4 separate regions of the Homo sapiens genome follow, and all the other regions are linked to region 4. Evidence: promoter capture Hi-C in 16 types of primary human blood cells and fetal thymus (Javierre and others, 2016). All regions are on one chromosome and are shown on one strand. Each heading gives the region's core, a stretch centred on a gene start or on the middle of the fragment in contact. The rest is flanking DNA. Distances are from core to core; before and after follow the strand shown.

What was found. The method cuts DNA at HindIII sites, captures the fragments that hold promoters and counts their contacts. A CHiCAGO score of 5 or more calls a contact.
Region 1: the fragment with the promoter of SEC11C here is called in contact with the fragment with the promoter of MEX3C in region 4 in 2 of 17 cell types (naive CD8 T cells and monocytes); the score reaches 7.7 in naive CD8 T cells.
Region 2: a contact is called between the fragment with the promoter of HAUS1 here and the fragment with the promoter of MEX3C in region 4, in 1 of 17 cell types (non-activated CD4 T cells). The highest score is 5.7, in non-activated CD4 T cells.
Region 3: a fragment that was not itself captured here is called in contact with the fragment with the promoter of MEX3C in region 4 in 4 of 17 cell types (total CD4 T cells, naive CD8 T cells, fetal thymus and 1 more); the score reaches 14.9 in total CD4 T cells.

The regions. Positions count from the first base shown.
Region 1 is chr18:59,137,693-59,141,208 of GRCh38, reverse strand. SEC11C (SEC11 homolog C, signal peptidase complex subunit) reads right to left here and starts at 1,325. Exons shown (of 6, transcript NM_033280.4): 1 at 1,174-1,325. The coding sequence starts at 1,260. RefSeq lists silencers at 1,286-1,425, 1,846-1,895 and enhancers at 1,466-1,565, 1,646-1,735. The HindIII fragment of the contact is 2,684 bases long and covers 1-2,237 here.
Region 2 is chr18:46,102,337-46,105,921 of GRCh38, reverse strand. HAUS1 (HAUS augmin like complex subunit 1) reads right to left here and starts at 1,537. Exons shown (of 9, transcript NM_138443.4): 1 at 1,481-1,537; 2 at 554-728. The coding sequence starts at 1,510. It also overlaps a transcript of ATP5F1A not described here. RefSeq lists an enhancer at 1,133-1,222 and a silencer at 1,613-1,712. The HindIII fragment of the contact is 1,925 bases long and covers 1,023-2,947 here.
Region 3 is chr18:56,635,574-56,638,644 of GRCh38, reverse strand. TXNL1 (thioredoxin like 1) reads left to right here and starts at 53. Exons shown (of 8, transcript NM_004786.3): 1 at 53-302. The coding sequence starts at 205. RefSeq lists enhancers at 1-15, 175-234, 16-1,001 and a silencer at 1-24. The HindIII fragment of the contact is 1,142 bases long and covers 699-1,840 here.
Region 4 is chr18:51,196,040-51,199,517 of GRCh38, reverse strand. It overlaps MEX3C (mex-3 RNA binding family member C), which reads left to right and starts at 1,837. Exons shown (of 2, transcript NM_016626.5): 1 at 1,837-2,951. The coding sequence starts at 2,198. RefSeq lists enhancers at 1,324-1,413, 3,212-3,478 and silencers at 1,614-2,143, 2,164-2,273, 2,414-2,493, 2,754-2,803, 2,824-2,873. The HindIII fragment of the contact is 5,421 bases long and covers 1-3,315 here.

The DNA of each region.
Region 1 (3,516 bases), core at 76-2,575, 7.9 Mb before region 4:
CTTTCCCACACTACTGCACTAGTCTGAAATTCTACTTGGGGAAGGGGGAGGAGAGTGAGAGGGGAAAAACACGTATGCCTAAAGGAGTAAGCTGTGACCTCCCATGGGCACCACCCCACATCTCAACATGATGGAGCAAATGAAACTGGATGCCATCAAAATAATGAGGATTAATACCATTTTCAAAGACAATCAAAACTCCCTGGTTGGAAGGTCCCATTTTTCTTAGCACAATTTATTAGTAGCAATAGTGGCATTAGTATCCACCGTGATATTCAGGTCCTACAGGTCCCCCAAATTCTCTACCTAGAAGCCTACATAGTCGTATTTTTCCTGACTGAGAGGGCTTCCTTTCCAATCCCTACTCACTCTTAACCTTATAGTGAAGAGATAAGGCCCCAAAGACAGTGATGATGGCCAATAAGTGGCTAAAAAGAGAGCAAGAGGAACGTTTTCCTCTGAGGTCCTCTCACAAAGGAGAGGGAATTCAACCACCCCAGCTGCCCAAAGACCCTACACTGCCTCCTATATTCAGAGTGCAGCCATCTCAGAAGTTAGAGAAGGCTTCTGGAATCTCGCTGGGAACACTGGTTGAGTCCACAATGATTGCGCACAGCTTGTGAGCTCTCTAGGCACAAGGAGCATTATTTAGTCCCGACCCACGGTCAGGGGAAAAACAACTGCCCAGGCTGGGAAGAAACTGCTTTGGGAGGCATCGCTGGACAGCTCCCGTTGTAGGAAAGTTCTTCCCTCTCGCCTGCCTTTCTGCCTCTTCCACCTGCCGGCAGTCAGGCCTCTGAAGCCCCACAGAGAAATCGGTTCCCTCTTCACCGGGTGGCCCTTCAAATACGCTCAGAGAGCTGTCGTTCACCGAGTCATCTCTCCCACAAGCGTGGCTGTGGCATTCTCAACCACATTTGACATTCCATGGCACGGGGTTTCTATTCTCCCCTTTCCTGCACCCTCCCCTAATTGTGCTCTTGTCAGGGCAAGGAAGTGCACACCCATGCCCACACGTAGGCGTAGAACCCAGGGCCTGAGAGCCCAGCGCGGGAGCTTCGGGTGGCCGCCCGGCCGCATTCACTGGGAGCCGGAGCCCTGACTGGGAAGCCCCGACTCCCCGCTAGCACAGGCGGTCCCGGCCACGGCGCGCTCACCACCCTCCTCCGTCACCTGGCGCTTGTTCATCTTCTTCAGGTCCCCGAAGATATCCAAGCCGGACGCGGGGAGATGAGCCCCCACGGCGCCCGCACGCACCATAGCAGGGTCTCCGGGGACCTAGCGGCCCGCCGGCTCTGGGTGGCACAGACGGCTGCGGAGCACCTGCCGGCCCCCGCCCACCGGCCCAGCGTCCTTGCGGCCACGTGACCGGCGACTCGCTTGGGCGTCTGGGAATCGTAGTCTCGCCAGTCTTGGGCACTGGCCAGCCAGGAATGAACCTGAAGGAAGAAAACTACCACTCCCAGAATGCTGCGGGGTGGGCACCTCGGCCAGTGAAGACCCGGGGCTCCTAGGGAGGGCAGCTACAGGGCTCCGGAGCCTTGTCCGACCCTTCGGAGGGAACATCGAGCAGCGAGTGACCCCGCATACCTCGGGGGGCAACTCGGGGAAGGGACTACTCAAGAGGAGCTGAATTTCCCGACTCTGGTCAGGCGCCAAGAGGACACCTAACTCCCGCTCGCAAATCACCTAGCCGTGTATCTTGGCTATTGGATGACTGCAGCGAGGAAAGGTGGTGCCTCTACGCTGGGGCGGGCTGAGCCGAATTGGGGCGGGGCCTAAAGATGGACTGCGGTGGGCGGGGCTTGGAAGAGGCGGGACTTTTGAGGCCGCTGAATTCTGCATTTTGAGTGGTACCACTTGTATGCAAGGAAGTATCTTTGAATGCCTTGACCATAATTGGGTTGCAATAGATATTAATTAAATGAATACATAACCACCTAATTTCATACACGAGAAAGCAAAGGCCCAGAAAGGTTCATTGACATGGCCAAGGTTAAGTGGAAATGAGTGGAATATAACTCAAAGTTTTAAATTTAGAAGTCCTAGATCATCACAGTTCTGATCCTAGATTACCTTTGGTTCATTCACTCACTCGTGTATGCATTATGCATTCTTTATTGTATTTATTTATCCACAAATCTTTATGGAGCACCTACCATGCACCTGGCCTTGTTCTAGGCACTTGAGAAACATCAGTTAACAAAACAAGCAAAGATTCTTGCCCTCATGAAGCTTATATTCTACCGAAGGCAGACATAATGGATAATTTATACGGTACCTAAAGGATGGAGGTGCTATGACAACAGGAAAAGCAGATAAGTTGAATGGGGAGGTCTGGGGGAAAGGATCAGGTTGCAATTTAAAATATACCAGAAGCTGACTTACCATGAAGCTAATGAAAGGTAAGTTCTGGGACCCTTCAATTGCAAAGGTGTTTTTCCAAGGTGTGGGAGAAACTTAACCATAGAATGTGTAAAACTTTCAAAAGCAAGATATTGCAATTGCTATTGGTTAAGAGTTCTGTTTCTTTGCATTCCAACTTCACCTCCATTACATTTCCCCTCCTGTTGGAGGGACAAGGAGAATTTTGGGGATCCAGCTAAGGAGGAAACGAGTTGGAGATACATTTGGTTTGAGTTTAGTGAATTTATTTATGTGGTTCATGGTCTTTCCTGCCATCCTCGTGTAAAAAATGGCTTCTGGGAATACTGCCATCCACTGGGCCAACTCACCTGGCACCGTGGCAGGAAGTCCCACTGGAAGTGGCATCTGATATGAAAGTGTTCTGCAGCACTTGACCTTGGAAATAAGTGGATGGAGAGGAAAAACAAGGTTTGAAATGTACAGATCCAGAAGCTAGTCTGTGTAAAATTCTTCCAAATATCAGATGTATAAAATTATAAGTGCAAGACACAGTGCTTAGTACATAGGAAGATATGGTGATAGTTAACCCTGCCACTAATAATTGCTGGAACTAAGGTGGCAGCACTAAAGGTTCAGAATCTGGATACATTTTGAAGAAAGAGTCTTCAGGATTTTTTGAAAGAATAAATATAGGGCGTGAAAGAAGAAAAGAGATTGAGGCTGACTCCAGGGTTTTTAACCTATGGAACTAGAAGGGTAGAGTTCCCCTCAACTTCAATGAGGAAAGCTGTGGGTGGAACAGGTTTGTGGGAATAGAGTAAGGGTCCAAAATGTGACCAATAAACCTAGAACCCAGTGTGATATCTTCACATCAGAACCTTTGGCCCAGCCTCCAGGCTCCTGCTTAGGTTGAGCATTGGGTGAGAAGCAACACAGGAAGACATTGGGTAGAAGTCCCTGCATATTGTCCAGTCTTAGACTAATTTATTCACCTCCATGAACCCTTTGCTCATCCACCAAATAAAAACCGTATTTGTTACAGCCACTTTGGAAGACAGTTTGGCAATTTCTTCCAAAACTAAGCATCCTCTCACCATATGATGCAGCAATTGCACTCCTTGGTATTTACCCAAATACCAGCTTGAAAAC
Region 2 (3,585 bases), core at 288-2,787, 5.1 Mb after region 4:
TATTTAGTATAATAACATTTATTACTTAGAGAATTACTACTGGCCAGGCAGGGTGGCTCATGCCTCTAATCCTACCACTTTGGGAGGCTGAGGCAGGCGGATCACCTGAAGTCAGGAGTTCGAGACCAGCCTGGCCAATATTGTGAAACCCTGTCTTTACTAAAACACAAAAATTAGCCGGGTGTGGTGGTGCAGGCCTGTAGTCCCAGCTACTTGGGAGGCTGAGGCATGAGAATCACTTGAACCCAGGAGATGGAGGTTGCAGTGAGCTGAGATCACACCACTGCACTCCAGCCTGGGCGACAGAGCAAGATTGTCTAAAATATATACACACACACACACACACACACACACACACACACACACACACATACATATACATATATATAAACATAAAACAATAAAGTTACTACTATAACAGAGTGGAAGAAAATCTGGGAAAAATAAAGGAGCAAAACAAGTAGTCTACAGTAAATTAATCCTGTATACTTTAGTGTTATAAAATTTGGTTACCTCTATTTATTCTCGTTCAAAACTCTGGACTTAATCTCACCTTCTGACTCGTATTCACTTGCTTTCTGCTTCAAGTCCTCTATTACCAGGTAGACATCCCTGTCCCGGACCCTGTTGCGTTCTGAAAGGTGATGTAAAATCTCTGTGGTCCGTGGGTTCACCTCATACTGTGGAATAGGATGATCTCCAAATATTTTTTTTAACCACGCAGCAACCTAACCATTAAAAGAAAGACAAATATTATAAGCCTTGTTTACTGTAATGGCTCGATGAGAATATGACAAAGAAGTGATCAAAAGCAAACTAAATGCTTTCTGTGACTATTTTGGAGTCCTACTTCACAACCTCACTTGTCTTTAGGGAGATACTAGATATCAGGAAATAAAAAGTGAGCAAGTACACAAAGAAACGTACAATACTGAAAATTACCAGAGAACAATCCGTTCTTTTCCAAATCTGCAAAAGCGGTACAGGCTAACAATTTGCCTCGCTTGAAAAACCTTAAAGCTTAATAGACCATAATAATGCGAACGCATTATTAGACCGTGCATGGTCTGAAAAAAGCAATTGTCCCTCGATCACCAGAAGCCCCGCCGCGCCGGGAGGCTCCCAGTGTTGGGATGCAGGGCGCGGAAGCAGTTCAGATGTGGAAGCCGCCGGGCTGAGCAGCGAACCGGAAGGCGGGTTTGGCTTCATAAGTCCCACTCCAGAGTCTGTGGACACGGGCTGCTCAACGCCTCTCCCGGGCCAGATCCAAACAAGGGGAGGCCCGGGCAGGAAGGGAAAGGCCTTCAGGAGAGTCTAAGCACGGGGGGCTTGCAGATAGTGACGGCGGCACTAAAAGACGGATGTGTGGAATAGGGGAGAGAAAAGTAGACGTGGCGCGCACAGGAGACCCGCTGTCGGCGCGGGGGTGTCAAAAACGCGTTTTCCAGGAGGCCAACGATCCCCATTCCCGCCCCATCACCTGCGTTTCTCTCTCCTCCTGCGGCTCCATAGCTGCGGCTCCCGCCACTTTACTAGGAACTCCTAGCGGGAGATGCGCCCCGCTCACTCCCTAGGCCCCGCCCACACGCCGTTGGCACCCGCCCCTCGCCGGGCCCGGGATTTCTGGGAGTTGTGGTTTTACCTGAGACTCCTGGCCGTTGAGCCCCTGTGCAAGGCTGGTCGAAGGCTCTGGCATTGCAAGCCTCGCTTCGTTGCCACTTCCCAGCTCTTCCCGCCTTCCGCGGTATAATCAACACTACGAGAGATAGAGCCGCCTAGAACCAGGTTGTTTTTTCTTTCTTTTATTTTTATTTCTTGTTTGAATCACTTGTCGTTAAAAAAAAGTACTTGAAACGTTTGGTTCTTGCTTAGCAAGATGTTTGTGTTTCTTCCACATTGATTGCATCCACTCAGAATTTATATTCTACCCTGGCAATATGAGCTGAGGCAATCTTAACTTGATCCGTTAGTTCCCCCAACCTAAAAACTAGGGACATTTTTTTTTTTTGAGACAGAGTCTCGCTTTGTCGCCCAGGCTGGAGTGCAGTGGCATGATCTCGGCTCACTGCAACCTCTGCCTCCTGGGTTCAAGCGATTCTTCTGTCTCAGCCTCCCAAGTAGCTGGGACTACGGGCAAGCGCCACCACGCCTGGCTAATTTTTGTGTTTTTAGTAGAGACGGGGTTTCACCATATTGGCCAGGCTGGTCTCGAACTCCTAACCTCATGATCCGCCCACCTCGGCCTCCCAAAGTGCTGGGATTACAGGCGTGAGCCAGCGCGCCCAGCTTTTTTTTTTTTTTTTTTTTTTTTGAGATGGAGTCTCTGTTGTTCAGGCTGGAGGGCAGTGGCACGATCTCGGCTCTCGGCTCTCAGCTCACTGCCACCTCTGCTTCCCGGGTTCAAGCGATTCTCCTGCCTCAGCCTTCCGAGTAGCTGGGATTACAGGTGTGCATCACCACGCCCAGCTAATTTTTTGTATCTTAGTAAAGATGGGATCTCATCAGGTTGGCCAGCTTGGTCTCGAACTCCTGACTTCAGGTGATCCGCCCGCCTTGGCCTCCCAAAGTGCTGGGATTACAGGCACTGCGCCCGACCTTTTCTTTTCTTTTTGAGATGGAGTGTTTCTCTGTCGCTTAGGCTGGAGTGCAGAGTGACATGATCTTGGCTCACTGCGACCTCCAACCCCCGTCCCCAGGCTCAAGCAATTCTCCTGTCTCATCCTCTCTAGTAGCTGGGATTACAGGCTTGTGCTAGCATGCAGGGATAATTTTTTTATTTTTAGTAGAACGGGGGGTTTCACCACGTTGATCAGGCTGGTCTCAAACTCCTGACCTCAAGTGATCTGCCTGCCTCGGCCTCTCAAAGAGCTAGGATTACAGGTGTGAGCCAACACACCCAGCCTAAAATGATTTTCTTTTCAAAGGAAACTTACTAGCAAGCCAAGCTTATTTATTATTTATTTTATTTTATTTTTAGAGACAGGGTCTTGCTCTTTCGTCCAAGCTGGAGTATAGTGGTGATCACAGTTCACTGCAACCTTGAACTCCTGGGCTCAAGCAATCCTCCCGCTTCAGCCTCCTTAGTAGCTGGGACTATAGGCGTGCACCACCACACCCAGCTAACTTTTTGTATTTTTTGTAGAAAGAGGGTCTCACTATGTTGCCCAGGCTGTTTTTGAACTCCTGGCCCCAAGTGATGCTCCCACTTGGGCCTCTCAAAGTGCTGGGATTACAAGCATGAGGCACCACACCCAGCCTGTCTTGCTTATTCTTTTTGCTTCAAACATATCTCTGCTCTGGCTGGATGCGGTGCCTCACACCTATATTCTCAGCACTTTGGGAGGCCGAGGCAGGTGGATCACCTGAGGTCCGGAGTTCAAGACCAGCCTGACCAACATGGCAAAACCCCATCTCTACTAAAAATACAAAAATTAGCCAGGCATGGTGGCACGTGCCTGTAATCCCAGCCACTTGGGAGGCTGAGGCAAGAGAATCACTTGAACCCTGGAGGCAGAGTTTGCAGTGAGCTGAGATTGAGACACTGCACTCCAGCCTGGGCGACAGAGTGAGAATCCACCACAAAAA
Region 3 (3,071 bases), core at 20-2,519, 5.4 Mb before region 4:
CCCCCATCCCTCCCCGCCCCCTCGGCCGCTCCGCTCCCTGGCGTGACTCGGCACTGAGAGTCCCGGGAGAAGACTCGGCGGTCGCCACCTCTTCTGTCCAGGCCTCGGCCTTCCTGAGCATCTCTCCTTCCTCTCCCAGATCGTCTTCTCCTTCAGTTTCAAAGCCAGTGGCGTCGCGGCCACCCTGCCGGGCTCTCTGTGAGGATGGTGGGGGTGAAGCCCGTCGGGAGCGACCCGGATTTCCAGCCAGAGCTGAGCGGCGCGGGCTCCAGACTCGCCGTGGTCAAGTTCACCATGAGAGGGTGAGGCCAGGCTCGAGCTCTGTGGGTCCCCGTCTGTCCTTCCTTGCTTTCCTTTCACTCTTTGTTGGCCCTGGTTTCCTAGCCGTCTGCTGCCCCGGAGTGTCCGGCAGTCGCCGCAGCCCCAGGAGCTGCCGGAATTAGGCCTCGTTTCTCGGGTGTGAACCCCCATTTATGCACAGGGGTTCCTAGACGGGCTCGGGGGCCTGGCTGGCCGGCTTCTCCAGCTCAGGAGATTTCTCACCTGCTCCTTTTCAATTCTTTGACAAACTGGTTTTGGGGGTGGCCCGCCCCTATTCCTTCCAGCCTGTGGGAGTCTCCGCAGCCACCCTTGCCTGAGCCTGACCCCTTCTTTCTGCAGAGCCAGCTGTCATTTGCATCTCCAGAGCTCCAAAAGCTTAATTTACCGAACACTTTGTTTCTCTTCACCACCTACATCTCTCTAAAGCCTTTGAAGATTCAGATGGGGCGATCTAACTAATATGCGTAGCTCTGAGTCCTGAATTTCTGCTAATGCATTTCGAACTAAGTTAACGTTGGGTTAGGGTGCTTTTTAAATTATTTGAACTTTTTTCTTCCTCGTTCGGCCACTAACTTGTAGCTTAGGCTCCCCTATGTATGCGATTGCAACTGGTCACACACGACAGTACATATATAATATATTTCAGGTGGACAGTTGGCCGGATGTCTTAGTTTGACCCGGCTCTGTTTTTTCACTTAAGAGGACAGGGATCTTGAAAAATGTTAACTGTCTTTGGTAAATATCAACAAAATTATAGGTCGTAGAAAAGGTGGACCTTTTATAGTGGATGTGTAGTAAAGTTCCTTTGTAAGAATGACATGTTGGAACTCGGCGTTGAGAACCAAGATTTCAGCGTGTGTGTGTGTTTCACAGATCTCTCCTTGTGTATGTCGATAGTATTTAGTTAGAAGTATGAGAGGTTTCCGCTTTATTTTCCTTGACCCCTTGGCGTTATTTATACATCTAACTTGGAGCAGTCTACTGCTGGTATCACTGTTTATGTAACACACTTTCTTGTCCAAATAACTGTATAAACACAAAATTCCATTTTGAATTTCAGAGCAAAAAACAAAGTTTCTACTAGATGGTTCACTAAATGTTGAGTATATAAATGGTGGCATTAGGATTATATCGTTTTAGGGAATGGATGCAGATAGATATGAAAACAAGTTAAGACTTATTTTTGGACCAGTCTCTCTTACACTGAATTGAAAAAGGATAGTACCTTGCATTTCATATGGTGGGCTAGAGTACCCATATGATATACGGAATTTTGCATTTACTAAATTTAAAAGGATAAGTGATGTCATATATATAAAACACCTAAAAGGAATGTTAGAATTCTATAAATGTGTCTTCTCATTTTTAGCAATTTTGTGATGTCTGTATTCTTAATAATAGGGGAATACCTGTAGTACATTAAGTATCTAGGCCACAGTAGAAAAGGGAAGATAGGATTTCAATAAGGAACCTCACCTCACTTTTAGTTCACTTATTCTAATTCTGGCCCGTCGAAGCTTTTATATTTTTGTCCCTCAATGATATATTGTTTTTCTCCCTTACCATAGCAGTGGGAGAGATAATAAAATAATAAATAAATATTGATTGAAGTGAGAAAACTGGGGAAACATTGCTGCGAAGGAAGGTTTTTTCTATCAGTGTGGTGTCACTTAAGCATAAGCATAACTGCAGACATTGATTGGTAAGGAACTGTTACATTTAAAAAGGTATTTTAGTGGAATTAAAATTTTTTTTCTTTGTAAAAACCGAGGGAAAATTAATGTTTGGATTTAGAGTAAGTTCAAAAGCATATTTATATTACGTTTACAAATCTGGTAAGATTATTGTATTTACCTTTAATATTCCTCGAACTTATTGGCCATTAATACATCCTGTCTAAACTCATTGTCAATAGAACCCCAGAATTATGTATATGACGGGTCAGTATTAGACTCAGAAACAACTGTATTCAGTAAAATCTTGTAAGAATCCTCTTAGATCAAAGTTAATGCTGTCCCAGTTTAGACTGAGGGCATAGTTTCTCCAGCACCTATTTCATTTCCTTTCCAACCCTATTTTAAACCTTTTTTCTTTTTTTTTAACCTCTATGCTTTATGCACTCTCAGTCTAAATTTTACTAAAATGATACATAGATTGTTCTCCTGTGTAAGAATCTTTAGTGGCTTATGATAAAATATATATAACATAAAATTGACCATTTAGCCATTTGTAAGAGTATAATTCATTGGCATTAAGGACAGTCAGCCCTCTGTATCCATGGATTGAACCAAATGTGGATAGAAAATATTTGGAGAAAAAAAATTGCATTTGTGCTGATCATGTACACACTTTTTTCTTGTCATTATTTTCTAAACAATACAGTATAACAACTATTTACATAGCATTTACCTTAGGCATTATAAGTAATCTAGAGATGATTTAAAGTATATGGGAGAATGGTCGTAGGTTATGTGCAGATACCATGTCATTTTCTATTAGGCCCTTGAGCATCTGTGATTTAGTGTCTTGCTGGAGGTCCTGAAACTAATCCCCCAGATACCCAGACATGACTATACAGTCACAATGTTGTGCCACCATCACCACTGTTTCCTATAACTTTAGACAGAAATTCTATATCCATTAAAGGATAACTCCCCATCCTTACTTCTCCAAAGGGACAAAACTGTACCCATTAAGCAGTAATTTGCCCCTCCCCATCTACCTCCTTGGTAACTTCTATTCTGCTTTCT
Region 4 (3,478 bases), core at 588-3,087:
CGGGCTAGTCACAGCCTAAGACAGAGGAAAGTTAAGAAGCATAATTTTTAACAAGCCATTTAAAAATACCCCCTAGAGGCCAGGCGCGGTGGCTCACGCCTGTGATCCCAGCACTTTGAGAGGCCCAGGTGGAAGGATCGCTTGAGCCCAGGAGTTTGAGACCAGCCTGGGCAACAGGGTAAGAACCCAGTCTCTACAAAAGATAAACAAAATTAGCCACGTGTGGTGATGCGCGCCGGGCGTGGTGATGCACTGGGGAGGCTGAGGCGGGATGATCACTTGAGCCTAGGAGGTCAAGGCAGCAGTGAGCTGTGATCATGTCACTGCACTCCAGCCTAGGCGACAGAGTGAGACTCTTGTCTCAACAAAAACAGAAATAATAACCTCTAGAAAAGATAGCCACTGCGTGAGATCACCTGAGCAATACTGTGGGAAGAGTGTCTAGGGAGGAGGAAACGGGGATTCATTTTCTTAAAAAGCACCAAAGAGCTGGGCGAGGTGGCTCACGCCTGTAATGCCAGCACTTTGGGAGGGCGAGGCGGGCGTATCACTTGAGGTCAGGAGTTCGAGACCAGCCTGGCCAACATGGTGAAACCCCGTCTCTACTAAAAATACAAAAGTTAGCTGGGCGTGGTGGCACGTGCCTGTAATCCCAGCTACTCGGGAGGCTGAGACAGGAGAAACTCTTTTTTTTTTTTTTTTTTTTTTGAGACGCAGTTTCGCTCTGTCGCCCAGGCTGGAGTGCAGTGGCATGATCTTGGCTCACTGCAACCTCCACCTCCCGGGTTCAAGCGATTCTCCTGCCTCCGCCTCCCGAGTAGTTGGGATTACAGGCGTGCGCCACCATGCCCGGCTAATTTCTGTATTTTTAGTAGAGACGGGGTTTCACCATGTTGATCAGGCTGGTCTCGAACTCCTGACCTGACCTCGTGATCCGCCCGCCTGAGCCTCTCAAAGTGCTGGCATTACAGGCGTGAGCCACTGCAAGGGGAAGCTCTTGAGCCCGGGAGGCGGAGGTTGCAGTGAGCCAAGATCGCACCACTGCACTCCAGCCTGGGCGACAGAGCTGGACTCCGTTTAAAAAAAAAAAACAAAAAACCCCGAAGAGCTAAACTTCAGCACCTCCAGGCTGCTGATGTAACCATCCTGCCGGCAGAGAAGCCGGGCCAGCGGGGCGTGGGAGGAGCATTCCCGAGTCCGAGAGGGAAGGCCCGGGAGCCACGCGGCTCAGGAAACCGCCCCCGCGAGGGGATAGGAGGATACTGCGTGGCCCCTCCTTCCGTGACTCTTCTTAAGGCCCTTCCTCTGAAGGGGGCGATCTCTTCCTCAACCCAAGGAAACAATGCTCTCGAACCTATGCCTGCAGCTCTGCTCCAGGCCGCTCACACAGTGCCTTCCCTAAAAGAACTCAGCCACATGGGCTACAGGGATGAAGGGTTGGGGGGAAACAAATCCAGGTGTGCGCTTCGACCGCACGCGCCTGCGCCAAAACCCCGCTTGGCCCTTAGTTTCAGCCTCTGCTGCAGCGCCTTCGTCCGCCTCCTTTTTCCCGCCCCCGCCGGGGACGTCACAAAGAGTGACGTGTAAAGTGAACAATCACAGTCCCTCTCCGCGCGTGCCGGGAGGAATGAGAGGGAGGTGGGCGGGGAGAGGACGGAAGGAGTAGGCTTCGGGAACTGGCTGGTCCCGGTCACCCAATCAGAGAGCTCTGGGGAGGGGAGGGGCGGGGCCCGAAGGAGGGTGGGGGGTGGGGCTGGGGAAAGGAGTTGGAAGGCTGCGGGAGGAGAAGGCGGGCTCCCAGAGATTAAAAGCACCCAATCAGAGCGCGCCGGCTTCATTCGGAGAGCGGCGTGGGGCGTAGCCGCCGCCGCCGCGCGCGCCGGGGGCTGGTTAAGGCCATGAAACAAAAGAAACACTGAGAGGGGAGCCGCTGCCACCTCCACCAGCCCGCCCCGCCGCCGTCCCCACCCACCCACCTAGTTACCTACCTCTGCCTCCTTCCCCTGCCCCTCCACCCCGCCCTCTCCGGTCTCCGGGCGGCCCTGGCGCTCCTCGGCCCGGGTCCCCAGCCCCGCCGCCTCCCCAGAGGAAAGGTGTTTGCGAGCTGAGCAGGGCCCTGGCCCTGTCCGCCATGGGGCTCGCCGCCTGCCGCGCCTGACCCGGCCGCCGCCGCCGCCATTGACAGCGCGCCGCCGCGATGCCCAGCGGCAGCTCCGCGGCCCTGGCCCTGGCGGCGGCCCCGGCCCCCCTGCCGCAGCCGCCCCCGCCGCCGCCGCCGCCACCGCCGCCTCTGCCGCCGCCCTCGGGCGGCCCGGAGCTCGAGGGGGACGGGCTCCTGCTGAGGGAGCGCTTGGCCGCGCTAGGCCTCGACGACCCCAGCCCGGCGGAGCCCGGCGCCCCGGCGCTTCGGGCCCCGGCAGCGGCGGCGCAGGGCCAGGCCCGGCGGGCGGCGGAGCTGTCTCCAGAGGAGCGGGCTCCGCCCGGCCGGCCCGGGGCCCCGGAGGCGGCCGAGCTGGAGCTGGAAGAGGACGAGGAGGAGGGGGAGGAAGCGGAGCTGGACGGAGACCTGCTGGAGGAGGAGGAGCTGGAGGAAGCAGAGGAGGAGGACCGGTCGTCGCTGCTGCTGCTGTCGCCGCCCGCGGCCACCGCCTCTCAGACCCAGCAGATCCCGGGCGGGTCCCTGGGGTCTGTGCTGCTGCCAGCCGCCAGGTTCGATGCCCGGGAGGCGGCGGCCGCGGCGGCGGCGGCGGGGGTGCTGTACGGAGGGGACGATGCCCAGGGCATGATGGCGGCGATGCTGTCCCACGCCTACGGCCCCGGCGGTTGTGGGGCGGCGGCGGCCGCCCTGAACGGGGAGCAGGCGGCCCTGCTCCGGAGAAAGAGCGTCAACACCACCGAGTGCGTCCCGGTGCCCAGCTCCGAGCACGTCGCCGAGATCGTCGGCCGCCAGGGTGAGTGCAGGGGTGGGGAGGTCCAGCTGGGCATGGCCCCGGGCGTGGGTGGGGAGACGAGAGAAAGGAGCGTGGGACGGAAAAGGCGAACCCGGCGAGGCCCCCAAGTCCACCGCGAAGGGGTCTGGGAGGAGCCGAGGGTCGACCAGATGTGAAGATGGGTCACCTTGCGAAAACCCACGCTTTTCCGCCCGTCTTGCCTGGTAAAAAGTGTGAAGTTTCTCGGGCGACCCAGTCCGGTGGTGTTCACGTTACTTGGGCTGTATTCGTGGAACACCAGGCTGGCGTGGCACCAGAAACCTCAGTGAGGTGGTAAAAGGTCGGGCTCGAGGAGTTGTGGGTTCGCTGTTGGGTACGGAAAGCTTCGAGATTGCAAGTTTGCGCCGCCGAGTGTCTTCTAAAAGCGTTCAGCCTCCCTTACAAGAACTTGTTCAGATGGAGAAAAGAACAGAAATGGAGGCCTGTAGACAGAGCTCACTGGGGAGGGAAGGGGTGTTCAAATGGTCGGTATCACCGCCATCCCCTGC